Linked DNA regions of Homo sapiens: region 2 is linked to region 1. Evidence: promoter capture Hi-C in human tissues and cell types (Jung and others, 2019). All regions are on one chromosome and are shown on one strand. The core of a region is centred on a gene start or on the middle of the fragment in contact, and the rest is flanking DNA. Distances in the headings are between cores, read along the strand shown.

Region 1 (6,507 bases), core at 1,617-4,116:
TGCTATTAGAACTATTTACCACTCAATAAAAGATAGCACTTACATTTTTGAACAATTCAAAAATGTGGTACAACTAATATTTTTGTGTGCTGATGAAAGTAAAGTCAACAATAAGTTTGAGGAGGTTGAAGGGTGAAAGCACAAAGGGCCCTGTTTGCCAGGATAGTATTTCGGACTTAAATCTATCATATCAATAATTTTCAAAGGTTTGACTGTCAAGAATCACCCAGATCAGGGGTGTCCAATCTTTTGGCTTTCCTGGGCCACAGTGGAAGAAGAAGAATTGTCTTGGGCCACACATAAAACACACTAACACTAATGACAGCTGATGAAGTTTAAAATAATCACAAAAACATCTCACAATGTTCTAAGAAAGTTTACAAATTGATGTTGGGCCACATTCAAAGCTGTCCTGTGCCACATATGGCCCATGGGCTGTGAGTTGGACAAGCTTGACCTAGATATTTTGTAAATGTAATTTCGAGTTATCATTTTTACTGCTTCTGAGTCAGTATTTCTGGGATAGAGTTAATGTAGCCTATGTTTAATATGCACCCCAGGAGGCTGGGTGCGGTGGCTCACACTTGTAATCCCAGTACTTTGGGAGGCTGAGGTGGGTGGATCACGAGGTCAGGAGTTCAAGACCAGCCTGGCCAACATGGTGAAATCCCGTCTGTACTAAAAAATACAAAAAAATTAGCTGGGCTTGGTGGTGGACACCTGTAATCCCAGCTACTCAGGAGGCTGAGGCAGATAATTGCTTGAACCCGGGAGGTGGAGGTTGCAGTGAGCTGAGATCACACCACTGCACTCCAGCCTGGGTGACAAAGTGAGACTCCCATCTCAAAAAAAAAAAAAAAAAAAGCACCCCAGGTTATTGTAGATAACCTGCATGTTAAATGTCAAGTAAAGGCTACAATCTCATTGACATTTCCAACTAGACAGAAGTCATTGAAAGTGTATTTAAGATGAAAAATTTAATGTTAACTTCTTGTTTTTAGGGAGATTACTCTTGGAAATGATATGGAATATGGGGTGTCTTATTATCAGGGTGCAGGTGAGGGGGCCTTTGTTTTAAACTATTTATAAATTTTAAATCTTAGTGTATAAATGTGACAGTGGGACTAGAATACAGGTAAAGAGTCAAAGATATTTACAAGAAAGAAATTAGATATTTTAATAAACTTTTGGATTGTGAGTATAATTCAATGGGAGGGTTTGGGTTTAATTCTCTATTTTCACTCCCAACCACATATACAGTAAATGATTTTAAGGAAGTTCATTTTACTCCACAGCATACAGCAATTCTGACTATTGCATTTTGGTTTTGAATTAAGATAATCCTTTCATGTCCTTCAGATAAACAATTTGCCCACAAGTTTTAATCTTATTATATTCATGCATCTGGATAAAAACAGTGTGGGGAGAGATAAGGAGAGAGAGAAAGAGAAGAGAGTGTGAGAGAGACACAGAGGGAGAGAGAGAGAGAGAGATTTGATCCCAACTAAACGAGATTTATTTTTTTCAGGAGTTCTGAAACAACCTAATACTTAGACATTAATTCTTCTCATTCTGTATACAAATCTCATCTCCACTTTCTGAAAATCTAGACTATATCTTCATAATATAAAATTGTAGTATCACTTGATTTTCAGTCTGAAAGTATCCTTCCATGTATTCATTTATCTCTGAGGAAACTCAGGACCCATGATCTCAGATAGCTTTCCTCAGATAATGTAATTGGTTAATGGTGTAAGACTTTCATCCCCAGGACCATAATTGTGTCATTTTCATCACCATTTTCATCTTTTTTTGTCATTGTCATCATTGTCATCATTGTCATGATCACATATCTAAGACATTCAAATGTATGAACAGAACTGATTTATATTTCTTATTGACGTAGGAATGTTATTATCATCTTTATTCATTCTCTGGTTTCCTGTATGTAGACAAAAGCAGGCAAAAGCTATTCTTGTTTACCACAGTACTATATCAAATCTTAGTTTATGTTCAATTCCTTTATTTTACCACTCAGTTTTAATAATGCATTGCTAACAAATTATGAAGTGATAGCTATGATACCATCTTAAGCATGTAGATGACAGTTAATAAAGTATTTTTATGGTTCTGTTTCAATCAAATAGGCACCTTGAAAATTAAGAAAAAATTAAATATTCAGTTGTAATGTTTCTAATGATTCCAAATATAACTTTTTTCATATAACAAATTATCTGTTTTGAAAGGGAATGGTTATTGTACAAAATCAAAATTGCTGAGAATGAAAGCATTAATAGCAGATGATCTGTAATTCTCTCACTCTATCCTTGATGATGCATGAGGTAGTTTTGATTTAGATTAGACCTTGCAAATGCTCAGATAGAATTTACTAGTTGAAAGACAACCAGCTACTTGGGAGGCTGAGCCATGAGAATAGCTTGAATCCGGGAGGTGGAGGCTGCAGTAAGCTGAGATTGCATCACTGCACTCCAGCCTGGGTGACAGAGCAAGATCCTGTCTCAAAAAAAAAAAAAGAAACTGTTAACATAGGCAGTAGTACAGACGAATCTCAAAATAATTAGGCTGGGTGAAAGAAGCCTAGTCAAAAAGAATACTGCATTATTCTATTCCTATAACATTCTAGAAAATGTGATAGTAAATAGAAATGTAATCTACAGTGACATAAAGCAGGTAAGTGATTCCTGAAGTATAGTGACAGAGGTATAGTAAGCAGGGATACAATGTTGCATTAGGAAACTTTTGGTAGTGCTGGATATGTTCAATATTGTACTTGCAGTGATGATTTCAGCTTTATATAATTCTTAGAAAATATAAAATAAGGCTGGGCACTGTGGTTCACACCTGTAATCCCAGCGCTTTGGGAGGCCAAGGTGGGTAGATCATTTGAGGCCAGGGGTTTGAGACCAGCCTGGGCAACATGGCAAACCCAGTCTTTACTAAAAACAGAAAAATTAGCCGGGTGTGGTAGTGCACGCCTGTAATCCCAGCTACTTCAGAGGCTGAGGCAGGAGAATCACTTGAACCTGGGAGGCGGAGGTTGCAGTTCATGCACGTTGAGATTGTGTCACTGCACTCTAGCCTGGGCAACAGAGCGAGATTCTGTCTCAAAAAAAAAAAAAAAAAGAAAGAAAGAAAATATAAAATATTTTACACGTGTCGAAGCTTATATTGTATACTTTAAATCTATGCAGTTTCTTCCATACCACCTCAATAAAGCTTTTAAAATGTGTATTGACTCAAAATGAATCACTTTGCTGAATAAATACTGCATATAATAAATATGTGCTTTTTGTATATAAGACCCAATGGTTTTATAAAATTGTTATGAAAACAAATCTAGAGTTGTTCCTTATCAACACAATGCCATTAAAACCACTGGTTAATATAAGGTTTATCTCAAAGTCTTTTTCTCAATTCTAGTTCCTTTTCTACATAGCAAATTTATGTTAAGTAATTCTGATCATGGGAAATAATGCAGTCTTCTCCTTGAGCAGCACTAGTGTGGGTCAGCACATTCAATCATTCAGCAAGCTTCCAGCCAGGAAAAGAACAATTTCTTTGTGTAGGTATTTCAACTTGGCTTCAGGAAGGTAATCGAACCACATTTTTTCTTTTCTCTATCCCACTCCTCTCGTTTCTGGTTTTAAGATCAATACTTCCAGCTCTTTGTAAGCATGACATAAATGCATCTACTTCCAGTTGTTGGTGACAGTCTTTAGAATGGCATACAATGCCTTATATTTTGAACGTTTATAGCAATTCATGAGCAATATGAAATTCTCATTTAATATCCAAATTTGCAAGCTACTTTTATTTATTACCAAAATTGTGATTACTAGTATTATCACTGAATGATTCCGAGACTCTTAAATTATTAAAAATGTTTTTTTTTCCATGTTCTACTCCTAGAGTCCTATTTTCCATTTCTTCTGAAAGCTTCATCTTTAGGTATTTCACACCCCACTACCCCTGAAAACAACATTATTGTTTTGATGATTAAAAGAGTAATCCTGCATTGAAACATTGTATTCATTTATAAGGGTCTCACTATTAAAATTAGTTAAAGTATAACTACAGAGAATGTTAAAAAGTCTGCCTGGCTGGGCCCCGTGGCTCACACCTGTAATCCCAGCACTTTGGGAGTCTGAGGCAGGTGGATTGCCTGAGGTCAGGAGTTTGAGACCAGTCTGGCCAACATGGTGAAACCCCGTCTTTACTAAAAATATACACAAAAAATTAGCCGGGCGTGGTGGCTTGCGCCTGTGATCGCAGCTACTCAAGAAGCTGAGGCAGGGGAATTGCTTGAACCAGGGAGGTGGAGGTTGCAGCGAGCCGAGATACCACCACTACACTCCAGCCTGGGTGACAGGGCGAGACTCCATCTTAAAAAAAAAAAAAAAGAAAAGAAAAAAGAAAAAAGAAAAAAAGAAGTCCGCCTATAGTCTGTAATCAGTGAAACTATAAACACTTAATTGGGGATAAATTGAATCCAAATTTGGATTCAACTGTAAAAACGGCAACCCATTTTGGCCTCCTTTTTACTGTGGAGAACTTTTTTTTGCTTATTAAGCTTTCGCTCCAACCTCACCCTTGTGTCCACACTTATTAATTTTCTTGGTTGTGAGACAATGAGCTCGGATAACACTTCAGACAATGAGACCATTGACCCTAGATCATTTCAATTTCTCCTAGCATGTCTCCAACACTGATATCACTCTTTGGGTAGAGCCAGTGATAGAAGCAATGATTTGATATTTCTGAAACCATGGCTTTGGTTCTTTCAAAGAAGCTACTTTGAATTCTATGTTGCCAACTGAATACCACATATGTCTCTTTTTTTTCAACTTTTATTTTAGGTTTAAGGGTACATGTGCAGGTCTGTTACATGAGTGAATTGCATGTTGCTGAGGTTTGGGGTACAAATGATCCCATCACCCAGGTAGTGAGCATAGTATTTGATAGGTCATTTTTTAACCATCACTTCCCTTTCCCTCTCTAGTAGTCCCTAGTAGCTATTGTTCCCATCTTTATGTCCATGTGTACCCAATGTTTACCTCCCACTTGTAAGTGAGAATATGCAGTATTCGGTTTTCAGTTTCTGCATTAATTTATTTAGGATAATGGCCTGCAGCTGCATCCATGTGGCTGCAAAAGACATGATTTAATTCTTTTTTTATGATTGTGCAGTATTCCCGTATTTGACCTTTTTCATTGTTCTGTAAATGCAGAGGAGATACCGGGAGGCCATTTTTCAGAATCCCCTGATCAGTATAGTTCTATCTCAAAGTTTTTCAGTGAGAGTACTTTGCTCAAAATTTGGAAGTTGTAAGAGAAGCAGAGGCTGTTATTTTCCAGAGGTATTTATAGTCAAACCGGAGAGCAAGGTGAGATCCATAGTAACTTCTCATTAACTGTTTGAGAACTACATACTTTACTGCTAAGACTATTGGTTAGAACTTTCTCAAAAATTACTGAAAGTCACTGCCATTTCCCACTGAGCTTTCCTGAATCATTCTCTGTAGGGCTTGGAGCTGAAATCTCTAGTTCTAGTTTCCTCAAGCTTCATCTCTGGTTCTCAGACTTTTGCTTCCCTTCCATTCTTCAAAAGAAGGTTGAGTCTTGGAGCCTACTGCATACAAAAGAGTATAAGTTAATTTGGGGTTGAAATGGGTCACTAAAATGAGCAAGCAAATGAGGAATTGAGATCCTCCATGTGTATCCTTTTTCTTTTCCTTTAGAGACAATTTTTGAAGCTCCACTGCATTGGAGAATAGGATTGAGAAGTAGAGTCACCAAGACATAGGGCAAAAATTCCTTCCAATTAACTCCCATTTGTTGGATCAGCTTATTTCTAAAAGACATTATAGGAAGATAGAGGCCTTCAGGGATTGGCAATTCAGAATATGGAATGTAATCAGGTTTCACACTGATCAAACTAAATGGTTCAGTTATGTGAAGATATTCTTCAGAGAATAAAAATACCAAAGTATGGGATAAAGGAGATAATGCTGGCTGTCACAAAAGGACACTAGATATTCTGCCAAATTCTATCAACAAAAAGGAATTAACTATGAATGCATGCAATAGCATGAATGAAACTCAAAAAATATTATCCTGAGCAAAAGCAGCCATACATAAAGTTCACACGGTATGCCCTCTTTTGTAAGAAATTCCAGGCTGAGTACCATGGTTCATGCTTGTAATGCCAACACTTTGAGAGGCAGAGGCAGGAGGATTGCTTGAGCTCAGGAATTTAAGACCAACCTGGGCAACACAGCAAGACCTCACCTCTACAAAAATTAAAAAATTAGCTGGGTGTGATGGTGTGCACCTGTAGTCCCAGCTACTTGGGAGGTTGAGGTGGGAGGATTGCTTGAGCTCCGGAGTTTGAGGCTGTAGTGAACCATAATTATGCCACTCCACTCCAGCCTCTGAGACACTGTCTTAAAATATATATATATAAAATAAAGAAATTTCAGAAAAGAC
Region 2 (6,507 bases), core at 1,330-3,829, 150 kb before region 1:
GAGGTATACTGGCTGTGTGCATTTATTGCATGGAGTTCTCCACTCTTCTCAAGGAATTAAGCAGCTCTGGATCCTTCTCTCTCTTTGCTTTCCTGTCAGAGCACATCCACTAAATTCTGTGTTAGGATATGCTTCCACCTAGCTGTTGGAAAATATGATGCAAGCCATGCACAAGGCGAGGCTCTGTATTTTGAAACTCATTTAATTTACACTAAAATTACCACTGGCCGGGCGCGGTGGCTCATGACTGTAATCCCAGCAATTTGGGAGGCCAAGGCGGGCATTCAAGACCAGCCTGACCAACATGGAGAAGGCCCATCTCTACTAAAAATACAAAATTAGCCGGGTGTGGTGGCACATGCCTGTAATCCCAGCTACTCGGAAGGCTGAGGCAGGAGAATTGCTTGAACCTGGGAGGTGGAGGTTGCGATGAGCCAAGATCTCGCCATTGCACTCCAGCCTCGGCAACAAGAGCGAAACTCCGTCTCACGAAAGAAAGAAAGAAAGAAAGGAAGGAAGGAAGGAAGGAAAGAAGGAAAGAAGGAAATTACTACTGTAGTGTTTATCCAATGCTTTACTTTATTCTTCCAGAAATACTTGCATTTGACTAGGTTATTTAGTGTGTATAATTCTCTGAATTAGAAATATCAAAGACATTTGTCACAAGTATAGTTTTCTGGGACACAGAGCTAATACGTTTTAGCCAGGAAATAGGCAAATGAGGTTAGGCCCTAGTGGATAAATTAGAAATTAGAATAGCTGTGGTATAATTACCAAGAGTTTCATATGCACATCAATATTTGAGAACCACCTAGGCAATTAAGGAAGTTTGTTGCCCGCCCTTGACATCATCATCTAAGCTGCCTATCAGTGTTGTCCCTTATGCCATCAGCAATCACCTAATTTATATATTTATAATTTCAGGCACAAATGAAGGATGACTAAAATACTAACTGGCTTCTTTAATTTGCATTATGGGTCTTATTTTGTTCATGTCATCTCTGACCATTATGACATTCTTCAGCAAGAGGAAATGAGTTTATTTCTGTTCATGGAGCAATAACTGCTTCCAGTCCTTAGCCTGCATTAATTATTTATAATGGTAGCTACAAACATATGTCTTATCTGACAACACAGTCTCTAGGGTTCTTGCTATTTCTCCATCACTCAATGAAATTGTATCTCCTTATAAGATACCAATTAGTTTGTTATATGAATGCTTTTTCACCTGCTTTGCGTATAAAAAATTACTGCAAATATCATCAGTCTTCTGGGCCTGGGAAAATGAATTCCTTACTCTTATGGACATGTGCTTCATAAAATCCCATGTGATACATATGGCAAGGCCCATCTTGCTTTAAAGGTACCATTACAGGAAAATACATACTTATGCAGAAAGCCTAATACAAATCTGTTAAGAGAGATGGTACGAATCTGGCATAATGAGAATGAAGATGCTAACAGAGCATACTGGCCAGTAAGACACAGTCAGCTTGTCACATATGCTTACTTCTTAGTACTTCTTAGTGAAACTCTCAAGGTTTTTCAAGAAATCCATAAAACTAAAACTGTTGCCTTTGATTACCTTACTGCCCCCAAAACTGGTCTCTTTGCGAAACTCTCACACTATTCATCATCTTATTCCAGGAAAGAAAAACAGTTCCTTGTTTTCAAATATTCTGAGGTTTTTCATGTTGCCTCAATCCTCTTTCATGCAAATACCATTTTTGACTTTGTTAGATAAAGTCAATGTATTCTAAGTTTTGCTTTTATACAAGCAAAGTAGTGTACTAGTAATTTACTATGCCTTTTTCTTTGATTTTGGTTTAAGAACTAATTTTCTCCCAACTACTTCAGGGTCATGAAAAGTGCAATAAGCAGCATAAACTATGAAGTAACTGAGAATTGACATCCTTTCTGTCATCTTCGTTTTCATGCCTCTCCCTTTGAACACACACTAGGAAAAAGCTATCTTAGTGAAATAGTCTTCTACGCCTTGATCGTCTTGTGCAGTGCAGTGCATCATGAGCAACAACACAAAGGTCTCTCGGTCTTAGTGTCACTTAGACATTAAGGGAGCATTTTTGTTGAACTAATAAATATGAGGGATTGAATTATTTCTGGCCAGACATTTAACCATAAGAGAATATTTACAATTTAGAAAAAAGCTAACATTATAAGCAATGTAATATAAGCAATGTAATATGCTTTTTTGTATATATTCCAAGGATTTGGAAGCATATTTCTGTGTGTCCTTTATATTTTATGGGTGACCACAAACTACTGCATGTGTGACTACACAGGAATGCATAAATATGTCCTAGCTATGATGTTTAGTCTTGTCAAAGATCTGTTAATAGTTTAAAAACATGTTCGCTACAGTTTTCCATATTAAAAATTTGAAACAAGCTTAAACTAGCAAAATTACAGAAGAGTACTCCAACAAAAATTTCTTTCTCTTATCTCTCAAATGAGAAAGTAATTGTCATACCTACCTTAAAATACTTACTGTTTTGATAATTTTTCACGATTTCAGGTGGCAGCTCCCTAATGGGTTGAACTGTGTTGTGTTAAGGAAGTTGTAACTTTGTACTGGTTTAACTTGATCATCAACCTTCAGGTACTTCCTGAAGGATCTTGAGGTCTCCTAGTTTTGCATTTTCACGCTACAATAAACACTCTTTTTAGAAACTTCCTTATTTTACACTTTGGAAATATTTTCCTTGGACTCTGTCATAATGGTAAGAAATTTTGATGTAAGGGAGGAAAGCAACAGATTTCCTCTGATTTCAGAAGAGCAGAGAGTTAGCTTTTCTATCCCCAAAATATTTATTTTTTCTGCTCTATCTCTTGGAAGTGCACTGGGATCATATGAATAAATAGAGGATCCTTAGTGGCCAGGTTCAAACATCACTAATGAAGCTTCTGTGTAATTAACTTTGGCAAAGCAACTAAAATAGGAGGCAACAGAGACACTTTCTTTTGAGAGAGTAATGCAGAACAATAGCATCAGATAGAGGCCTGGTGCCCATGCTAATGAGAAAAATAATGCACAAGTCTGATTCTATTTCCTAATACACTTTTATAAGGATATGAGTATGTCTGTTTTTTAATAATCAAAATATTTTGCTTAATCTAATCCCCCATAATATAATTTGGTGAAGTATCTACCATATATGGAAATCAGTGTGGATGAAAGTTACTATGTATACAGAGATATTGTAAAATCAGTTCATATTGTGTTAATCATAGGATAACTTATTTACATTTGAAAAACAGAAGAAATTACATAGGTCAGATATATTATTTATTCTGTCTACAGACAATGTCTTGTAAGACCATCATTACATGGATGACCTTCAAAAACAGTTCACACCATTAAGAACCACTGTTTCAATGCATTCCAGCTTTGTAATGTTTGTTTCTGGGATTTTTAAATAAGCGTATTTAAAAGTAACATCTCAAACTGACTGTGAATGCTTTAAAAGTGCACAAAATTAGGTTTGGAGGGCTGGCCAGAAGTATTGCTTAAGGTTAAATAACAAAGAGATATGAAAGTCATAGCCTCTATGTAAATTTTTATCAATAAGATTTTATTGTTTCTTTTGTGTATGTTATGCTTCCATCATTAGATTCATTGTCAAGTATTTGTGTAGTTCTATGTTATTTTCAATTATATATAATATATAGTTATATAATATTTACATATTATTTATACATAGCATATTTTTGATATAATGATATTAGAAATTCATTTAATTTTGCAGATTACCATTGCTCCATCAACATTGTTAAACTTAATTATACTATTAAAATTGTCTATAGAATATGTTGAATGTTTTTATGTACACTTCGTAGATTTTTTAATGATTATTCAGGGCCCCTCCATTTAAAAGAAATTTATTTCTTGACCTGTAGACTTCCTTTGAAGTGAAAATATAGCAGCAACAGCCTAGGTTATGCTGCAGTAGTGAAAATTTTAGTAAAGTCATCACCTGAGATAATCTGAAAGGTAGATATATACCAAAAGCATCTGTGGCTTTATGAATGGGAATTTGGAATTAACCTGTTTGCTATAAAGAAACTGATAAAAGAATTGGCCTATTTGGCACTTGGTATGAATGGGAATAGAGAAGATCCACAAACAACTGGGAATTAGATTTGAAGATCCAACCATATCTCACCTCCCCAAGTTAAAAATAAAATTTAGTCATTCTTTGAGGTATATTAAAACCATCTCACAGCAAGAACATGCCAGTGATGTTGCTACCACATTATTTGTTTCAGCCTCTGAATCTATTAACTCAATATCTTAACATTAAGTATGTAATTTCTGTTGGGTGTGGGACTTTTTCAGAAGGACATAGCTCTGCCTTAAAAATCTCTTAAGTTTAAAGTATCTGTAATTAAGTGTAAATAGGCACTTAAAAATAATAATGAGTGAGATTATTGATATATACAAGTAAGAATCCAGCATGTTAAAAGAGGATCATGTTTTTGAGTGGTTAGCCTGGGTAGGAGAGATTGAATGTAAATCAATTTTCTGCTCCACAGTCTGTAGACAAAAAGAAAAAGAAAAAAGAAGGCTAAGAAATAAACTTAGTCCCAAGGGAGTTTTATTTTTCTTTAATGTTTGTTGAGGGAAGTCAGGGACCCTGAATGGAGGGACAAGCTGAAGCTATGGCAGAAGAACATAAATTTTGAAGATTTCATGGACATTTATTAGTTCCCCAAATTAATACTTTTATAATTTCTTTTGCCTGTCTTTACTGCAATCTCCGAACATAAATTGTGAAGATTTCATGGACATTTATCACTTCCCCAATCAATATTCTTGTGATTTCCTATGCCTGTCTTTACTTCAATCTCTTAATCCCGTCATCTTCATAAACTGAGGATGTGTGTCACCTCAGGACCCTGTGATGATTGTGTTAACTGCAAAATTGTTCATAAGCATTTATGTTTAAACAATATGAAATCTGGGCACCTTGAAAAAAGAACAGGATAACAGTGATGTTCAGGGAACAAGGGAGATAACCGTTAGGTCTGGCTGCTTGAGAGCCGGGTGGAACAGAGCCATATTTCTCTTCTTTCAAAAGCAAATAGGAGAAATATCACTGAACTCCCCTTTCTCAGCAAGAAACAGCCCTGAGAAAGAGAATGCATTCCCAGGGGTAGGTCTCTAAAATGGCCGCTCTGGGAACATCTGTCTTTCACAGTTGCAGATAAGGGATGAAATAAGCCCCGGTCTCCAGTAGTGCTCCCAGGCCTATTAGGACAAGGAAATTCCCACCTAGTAAATTTTTAGTCAGACTGGTTGTCTGCTCTCAAACCCTGTCTCCTGATAAGATGTTATCAATGACAATGCATGCCCGAAACTTCAATAGCAATTTTAATTTTGCCCTGGTCCTGTGATCTCACCCTGCCTCCATTTGCCTTCTGATATTTTATTACCTTGTGAAGCATGTGATCTCTGTGACCCACACCCTATTTGTACACTCCCTCCCCTTTGAAAATCACTAATAAAAACTTGCTGGTTTTGCAGCTCAAGGGGCATCACGGAACCTGCCGACATGTGATGTCTCCCCCAGATACCCAGCTTTAAAATTTCTCTCTTTTGTACTCTTTCCCTTTATTTCTCAGACCGGCTGACACTTAGGGAAATAGAAAAGAACCTATCTGAGATAACGTTGAATTATCGGAGGGGGGGTTCCCCCAATAAATGTTCTTTAAAATTTCTTTAGAACGTTTTTGGATATGGCAAAGTAAAAAAGAAAAGCAGATACCTCTCAGATTGTGACTCAAGAGCCATGAAATAAAAGTGGCTGGGTCTTATTCTCAAGGAACGTAACTGGGAACCAGTCAAGAGGCTTCCCACAGCTACAGAGTAAGAGGCCCCTGCATTGCCTATCAAGTTCTATTTTAGACTTGGTATTGACAGTGTTTGCTGTGTATTCCCAATTCCTATCCTCTCTGAATGATAGTGTTTCTTAGATTGTTTTTTTCCTGTTCCTCTAGTAATTGTAAGGTGTGTGCATTAGACAAATCAACTGTCTGAATTTAGAGAAGGCAGTTGTGGCTCTAAAGTATAGAAATTGCCATTAGATCCTGGAAGTTGAGCACAATGGCTGACTTGATGTGACCTTTGGACTGTCTCCCTGAGAGAGGGATAAATATGTTTTGCATGCAGCAAAGAGGGAAGTGAATATTTGTGACCAACAGGGTTAAATGTGGTAGAATATCTCATCATTCTTAAATATTCACTGTTCTTCCCTGTGAGAATTCAATTTTCTCAAATCATTGTCATTACCTTCTGTAATCTGAGTTAATTTTACCCAAGAATCACCAGGTGGTTTTACCCATACTCTCTCCACTCTGTGATGAAAAGGGCATGTCTGAGATAAGGGTTCCTTTTATCCTTGGGACCCAGGAGGAAAAATATGTGGAGAAGAGTACAATCAACATGTAAAATAAGTGTAAATAAGCTTTTCATAATTTTTAAAATTC

What was found. Contacts are between HindIII fragments. The study calls those that stand out against the background at their distance.
Region 2: the fragment with the promoter of OR6C2 here is called in contact with a fragment that was not itself captured in region 1 in 3 of the 25 tissues and cell types used here (H1 embryonic stem cells, adrenal gland and ovary).

The regions. Positions count from the first base shown.
Region 1 is chr12:55,286,203-55,292,709 of GRCh38, reverse strand. No RefSeq gene overlaps it. Among named protein-coding and RNA genes, the nearest start is that of OR6C6, 7.1 kb to the left of the region's middle. The HindIII fragment of the contact is 6,606 bases long and covers 1-6,169 here.
Region 2 is chr12:55,440,148-55,446,654 of GRCh38, reverse strand. It overlaps OR6C2 (olfactory receptor family 6 subfamily C member 2), which reads right to left and starts at 2,579. Exons shown (of 2, transcript NM_054105.2): 1 at 2,496-2,579. The region is part of intron 1 of LOC124902940 (a long non-coding RNA gene); the gene reads left to right. The HindIII fragment of the contact is 10,123 bases long and covers 1-2,666 here.